2 separate regions of the Homo sapiens genome follow, and region 1 is linked to region 2. Evidence: promoter capture Hi-C in human tissues and cell types (Jung and others, 2019). All regions are on one chromosome and are shown on one strand. The core of a region is centred on a gene start or on the middle of the fragment in contact, and the rest is flanking DNA. Distances in the headings are between cores, read along the strand shown. Region 1 has its middle 7.1 kb from the start of S100A12. Region 2 holds the start of S100A2 (S100 calcium binding protein A2).

Region 1 (3,190 bases), core at 179-2,678, 180 kb after region 2:
CTTTGGCCTTTTTGTAAAAAAAAAAAATTATTTTAGATTCAGGATATACATGTGCAGGTTTGTTACATGGGTATATTGCATGATGCTGAGGCTTGGGCTGCGAATGATCTCATTGCCCAAATAGTGAACATAGTACCTGTTAGGTAACTTTTCAACCCTGGTGCCCCTCCTGCCCTCCCTCCTTTTGGAATCCCCAGTGTCTACCACTCCCATCTTTTTGTCTGTGTGTACTCAGTGTTTAGCTCTCACATATAAGTGAGAAATTCTGGTATTTGGTTTTCTGTTTCTACATTAATTCACTTAGCGTAATGGCCTCCAGGTGCATCCATGTTGCTGCAAAGGACATGATAGTGTTCTTTTTTATGCTTCATAGTATTGACATATATGACATATATGTACTACATTTTCTTTATCCAACCCACCATTGATAGGTACCTGGGTAGATTCCATGTCTTTGCTAATGTGAATAGTGCTTTGATAAACATACTAGTGCAGGTGTCTTTTCCTTTGGGTATATACTCAGTAACGGGATTGATGGGTTGAATGGCAATTCTATTTTTAGTTCTTTGAGAAATCTCCAAAATGCTGAACTAATTTGCATTCTACCAACAGTATATAATCATTCCTTTTTCTCTCCAACCTTGCCAACAACTGTTATTTTTTTGACTTTTAAATAATAGTCATCCTGACTGATGTGAGATGATATTTCTTGTGGTTTTGATTCACATCTCTCTGATGATTAGTTTTTGCATGTTTGTTGGCTACTTGTGTTTCTTTTTGAGAAATGTCTGTTCATGTTCTATGCCCACTTTTTAATGGGGTTATTTGTTTTCTTCTTGTTAAGTTGTTTGAGTTCCTTATAGATTCTGGGTATTAGCCCTTTGTCAGATGCATAGTTTGTGAATATTGCCTCCCATTCTGTAGATTGTCTGTTTACTCTGTTATTAGTTTCTTTCACTGCGTGGAAGCTTTTTAGTTTAATTAGGTCCCATATCAGTTTTCGTTTTTGTTGCATTGCGTTTGAGGACTTAACCATAAATTCTTTGCCTAGAACATGTCTAGAAGAGTATTTCCTAGGTTTTCTTCCAGGATTTTAATAGTTTAAGGTCTTAACATTTAAGTCTTTAATCCATCTTGAGTTAATTTTTGTATGTGGTGAGAGGTAAGGGTCCAGTTTCATTCTTCTGCATATGGTTAGCCAGTTTCCCCAGCACCATTTATTGAATAAGATTTCCTTTCCCCATTGTTTATTTTTGCCAGCCTTGTTCAAGGTCAGTTGGTTGTAGGTATGTGGTTTTATTTCAGTGGTCTCCATGCTGTTCCATTGGTCTATGTGTCTATTTTTGTACCAATACCATGCTGTTTTGGTTACTGTAGACTTGTAGTGTAGTTTGAAATTGGGTAATGTGGTACCTCTGGTTATATTCTTTTTTGCTTAAGATTGCTTTGGCTATTTGTGCTCTTTTTGCTTCTATATGAATTTTAGACGAGTTTTGTAAAGTTGTGTGAAAAATGACCTTGGTAATTTGATAGGAATAGCATTGAATCTATAGATTGCTTTGGGCAATGTGGACTTATTAACTATATCAATTCTTCCAATCCATGAGCATGGCATGCTTTTTCATTTGTTTGTGTCATCTATGATTTCTTGTAGCAGTGTTTTGTAGTTCTTTTTGTAGAGGTCTTTCACTTTGCTGGTTAGATATTTTCTTAGGTATTTTATTTTTTGTGTGTGGCTGTTGTAAATGGAATTGCATCTTTGATTTGGTTCTCAGCTTGAATATTATTGGTGTATAGAAATGCTACTGATTTTTCTATGTTGATTTTGTTTTCTGAGATTTGCTGAAGTTGTTTATCAGGTCTAGGAGTCTTTTGGAAGAATCTTTAGAGTTTTCTGGACATAGAATCATATTGTCAGTGAAAAGAAGTAATTCGCTCTTTTTCAATTTGGGTTCCTTTTATCTCTTTCTCATGTCTAATTGCTCTGGCTAGGACTTTCAGTACTATGTTGAATAGGAATAGTGAGAGTAGACATCCTTGTCTTGTTCCAGTTCTTAGGCAGAATGCACCTAACTTATGCTTATTCAGTATGATGTCAACTGTGGGTTTGTCATAGATGGCTCTTATTATTTTGAGGTATGTTTCTTTGATGTCTATTTTATTGAGAGCTTTCATCATGAAGAAATGTTGAATTTTTATTGAATGCTTTTCTGCATTGATTGAGATGATCATATAGTTTTTGTTTTTAATTCTGTTTATGTGGTGAATCACATGTATTTATTTGCATATGTTGAACCATCCCTGCATTCCAGGAATAAAGCCCACTTATTTGGGAAATCAACTTTTTGATATGCTGCTGTATTTGGTTTTCTAGTATTTTGTTGAAGAGTTTTATGTCTATGCTCATCAGGGATATTGGTCTGTAGTTTTCTTTTTTTGTTGTGCCTTTGCCAAATTTTGGTGTCATGAGGATATTGGTTTCATAGAATGAGTTAGGGAGGAGTCCCTCCTTGATTTTTTGTAATAGTTTCTTTAGGATTGATACCAGGTCTTCTTTGTAGATCTAGTAGAATTTGACTATGAATCCGTCTGATACAGGGTTTTTTGTTGTTGCTATTGTTGGTAGGTGTTTTATTACTGATTTATTTTCATTACTTGTTATTGGTCTGTTCAGAAATTCTATTTCTTCTTGACTCAGTCTTGGGAGGTTGTGTTTCCAGGAATGTATTGATTTCCTCTAGATTTTCTAGTTTGTACTCATAGAGAGGTTCATATCTCTGAGGATCTCTTGTATTTCTGTGGAATCGGTTGTAATGTCACCTTTGTCATTTCTGATTGTGTTTATTTCGATCTTCTCTCGTTTTCTTTGTTAATCTAGCTAATGGTCTATCAATCTTGTTTATCCTTTCAAAAAAGCAAGTTTTCCTTTCACTGATCCTTTGTATGGCTTTTTGGGTCTCAATTCACTTAGTTCTGCTCTTATTTTAGTTACTTCTTTTCTTCTGCTAGCTTTGAGCTTAGTTGTTCTTGTTTTTCTAATTACTTTAGGTGGAGGTTGGGTTGTTAATTTGAGATCTTTCTATTAATATCTTCTTTATATATATATATTTTTTATTATACTTTAAGTTCTAGGGTACATGTGCACAATGTGCAGGTTTGTTACATATGTATACATGTGCCATGTTGGTGT
Region 2 (2,964 bases), core at 425-2,924:
TATTTTATTTTTACTTTAAGTTCTGGCATACATGTGCAGAATGTGGTTTGTTACATAGGTATACATGTGCCATGGTGGTTTGCTGCACCTATCAACCCATCATCTAGGTTTTAAGCCCCGCATGCATCAGGTATTAGTCCTAATGCTCTCCCTCCCCTTGCCCCCATCCTTCTCCCCGCAACTGCCCACAGGCCCTGGTATGTGGTGTTCCCTTCCCTGTGTCCATATGTTCTCATTGTTCAACTCCCACTTATGAGTGAGAACATACCGCCTGGCTTTAAGGGACAGCCATGGGGATGCACTGCAGTTTCTGAGCAGGGAAGGCCCTGTGGAGGCCCTTAGTTAAAAGGAAAGAATGGCTGTGAAAATCGATGCATTGCGCTCCCTTGTCCCTCACCCTCAGTGTGAAGGGTTTTTATTCCGAGTTCTACTTGAAGTAGGCCTCGATGGGAAGACAAGTAGCATGAGGGGTTCAAGTACTGAGGGGAGCAAGGGACACTCGGTGGCTGTGCCAAGGTGTAGAAGAGGACACTGGGGGCCCCAAGGCCTGACTTCATGTACACTGCTCAGGCTGGCCCCCAAGTCACACGGTGACCGCTAGGAAGGGACCAGCCTGTTCTCAGTCTGATCCTCCTGCCATGTCATTATCCAAAGCTCCTCCTGGCAGGGCCTGTTTGGGGTCTCTGTGCCAGTGCTTTCCCTGCCAGGCTGGGCTGGGGCTTCCACCTACTGCTCTGGGACTGCTGCTGCCCTGGCCCTGGGGGAGGAGGGTGTGCCGCTGAGTCACTGCCTGGGCATCTGGGCCTGGAACCTCGGGTGAGTCACTTAGGGCTGAGGTAGAGGGGCTGGGGGAGGGGAAGAAGCTACTCGACAGCTGGAGCAGGGAGGGGAGCTGGGGCCACAGGAAGGGCGGTGCCCTGATGCCCAGACGGGCCGGGATAGACAAAGGGCCAAGGAGGAAGGGGCCCTGGGAGGGGGCAGCCCTCCCTTGGGCTGGGCTCTGAATGGCCACAGTGTTTGCCTTTCTCCGGGTCTGGGGAGGACATGTGTGTGGGGGGCAGTGAGAGAGGGCTGTGGCTGAGGGCTGTGCTTCAGGCCTGGATTCTGGCTTGGGAAGCTGTCCAGCTGGTGTTTTCAGCCTTGGGTAGGGATGTACCCCTACCCACCCACCCAGCCCTCAAGCTGGAGAAGAGGAGGCCAAAGTTTTCCTGTTCAGCCTTTAACTACTCGGGACTTCCTTATGCTCCCCACAGACTGTGGCCCAGCCCAACTGCGGCTGTGTGTAGAGCAACCCCATTTCTCACTGCTTCCCCATCCTTCCAGACACCTTCCTACACAGAGGGACCTTCCCAGGTATTTCTAAGCACACTTAGTTACCTCATTACCTCATTAAGAGGTATTCTGGTGCTGGCCATTAAAAGTCACTCCACTTCATCCATGCCCTGAAGTCAGTCCTGTCCTTCTCCTCCTGATGTCCCCCAGCTGCCTCCTCTGGCCCCCAGCTTCCTAAGGGTGGCCCCAGGTTGCTTCTCTCTCACACACACGGGCGCATGTATGTACACGAGCACTGGACCATGAAGTCTCAGCGTGTGCTCACAGCCTCTCACACAGGAGTGGGCTGTGACTCACAGGCATGTCATGAGAATGAGGCCTGGCACCAGTCTCCAGGCCCCAGAGCAGGGGTTGCCTCCCCTCACCCCGGTCCAGGATGCCCAGTCCCCACGACACCTCCCACTTCCCACTGTGGCCTGGGTGGGCTCAGGGGCTGCCCTTGACCTGGCCTAGAGCCCTCCCCCAGCTGGTGGTGGAGCTGGCACTCTCTGGGAGGGAGGGGGCTGGGAGGGAATGAGTGGGAATGGCAAGAGGCCAGGGTTTGGTGGGATCAGGTTGAGGCAGGTTTGGTTTCCTTAAAATGCCAAGTTGGGGGCCAGTGGGGCCCACATATAAATCCTCACCCTGGGAGCCTGGCTGCCTTGCTCTCCTTCCTGGGTCTGTCTCTGCCACCTGGTCTGGTGAGTACCTCTGTCCTGCTGAGGGCAGGGTGGGGAGGATCCCCGTGGGTCTCTGTCTTTGTCTCCACAGTTCTCTCATTCCAGCTTCCCTGGTGGGATCAACCTGGGCCTCTCTGGGCCTTCCCCCTTGGAAGAACTCTCTGTGAAGTGCTGAAGTGTTGACTGAAGGGTTTTTTTTTTTTTTTTTTTTTTTTGAGATGGAGTCTCGCTCTGTCGCCCAGGCTGGAGTACAGTGGTGTGATCTCAGCTCACTGCAAACTCCCCCTCCCAGGTTCACGCCATTCTCCTGCCTCAGCCTCCCGAGTAGCTGGGACTGCAGGCGCCCACCACCATGCCCGGCTAATTTTTTTGTATTTTTAGTAGAGATGGGGTTTCACCATGTTAGCCAGGATGGTCTCGATCTCCTGATCTCGTGATCCACCCATCTCGGCCTCCCAAAGTGCTGGGATTACAGGAGTAAGCCACCGCGCCCGGCCGACTGAAGGGTTTTTCTCCAGGTTCCTCTGTGAGGTCTCAGTGCAGGGGTTGCTCTGAGGCCCTCCCCTGGATATCTCAGTCTAGGGGCCCTTCTTTGGGGGTCTAGGCCTAGGAGCAGGAGGTGTGCATGTGGGCGTTGCTGCAAAAAGAATCCTGAGATTTTTTTTTTTTTTTGCAAAGTCCTGGATTCTAGCAGGACTAAGGTGCAAGAGGCAGGGGTCTCAAGACTCTGCCTGGGTCATGGCCCCAAGCAGCAAAGCTCTGCCCCCTGCCTCGGTGAAGGCAGGGCTGGCATGATGGGCCCAGGGCATGCCCTGCCTCTGGCATAGCTCCTCTGGCCTCACCCTGAAACCTGCCTAACCTTTCCAGGCTGGTCTGAGTATTCTCAGAGGCCTTGCCGCTGAGGTCTGTCCCATCCTGATCCCAAGGCAATGAACATTTCATATCTTTAATTCTAATTCCAACAGGATCCTTC

Evidence for each region. The method cuts DNA at HindIII sites, captures the fragments that hold promoters and counts their contacts. A contact is called where the count stands out against the background at its distance.
Region 1: a contact is called between a fragment that was not itself captured here and the fragment with the promoter of S100A2 in region 2, in 1 of the 25 tissues and cell types used here (spleen).

The regions. Positions count from the first base shown.
Region 1 is chr1:153,381,081-153,384,270 of GRCh38, reverse strand. No RefSeq gene overlaps it. Among named protein-coding and RNA genes, the nearest start is that of S100A12, 7.1 kb to the right of the region's middle. The HindIII fragment of the contact is 6,662 bases long and covers 1-3,190 here.
Region 2 is chr1:153,564,554-153,567,517 of GRCh38, reverse strand. S100A2 (S100 calcium binding protein A2) reads left to right here and starts at 1,674. Exons shown (of 3, transcript NM_005978.4): 1 at 1,674-2,012. RefSeq lists enhancers at 513-752, 450-1,649, 1,623-1,682, 1,802-2,559, 2,560-2,964 and 1 more. The HindIII fragment of the contact is 11,510 bases long and covers 1-2,964 here.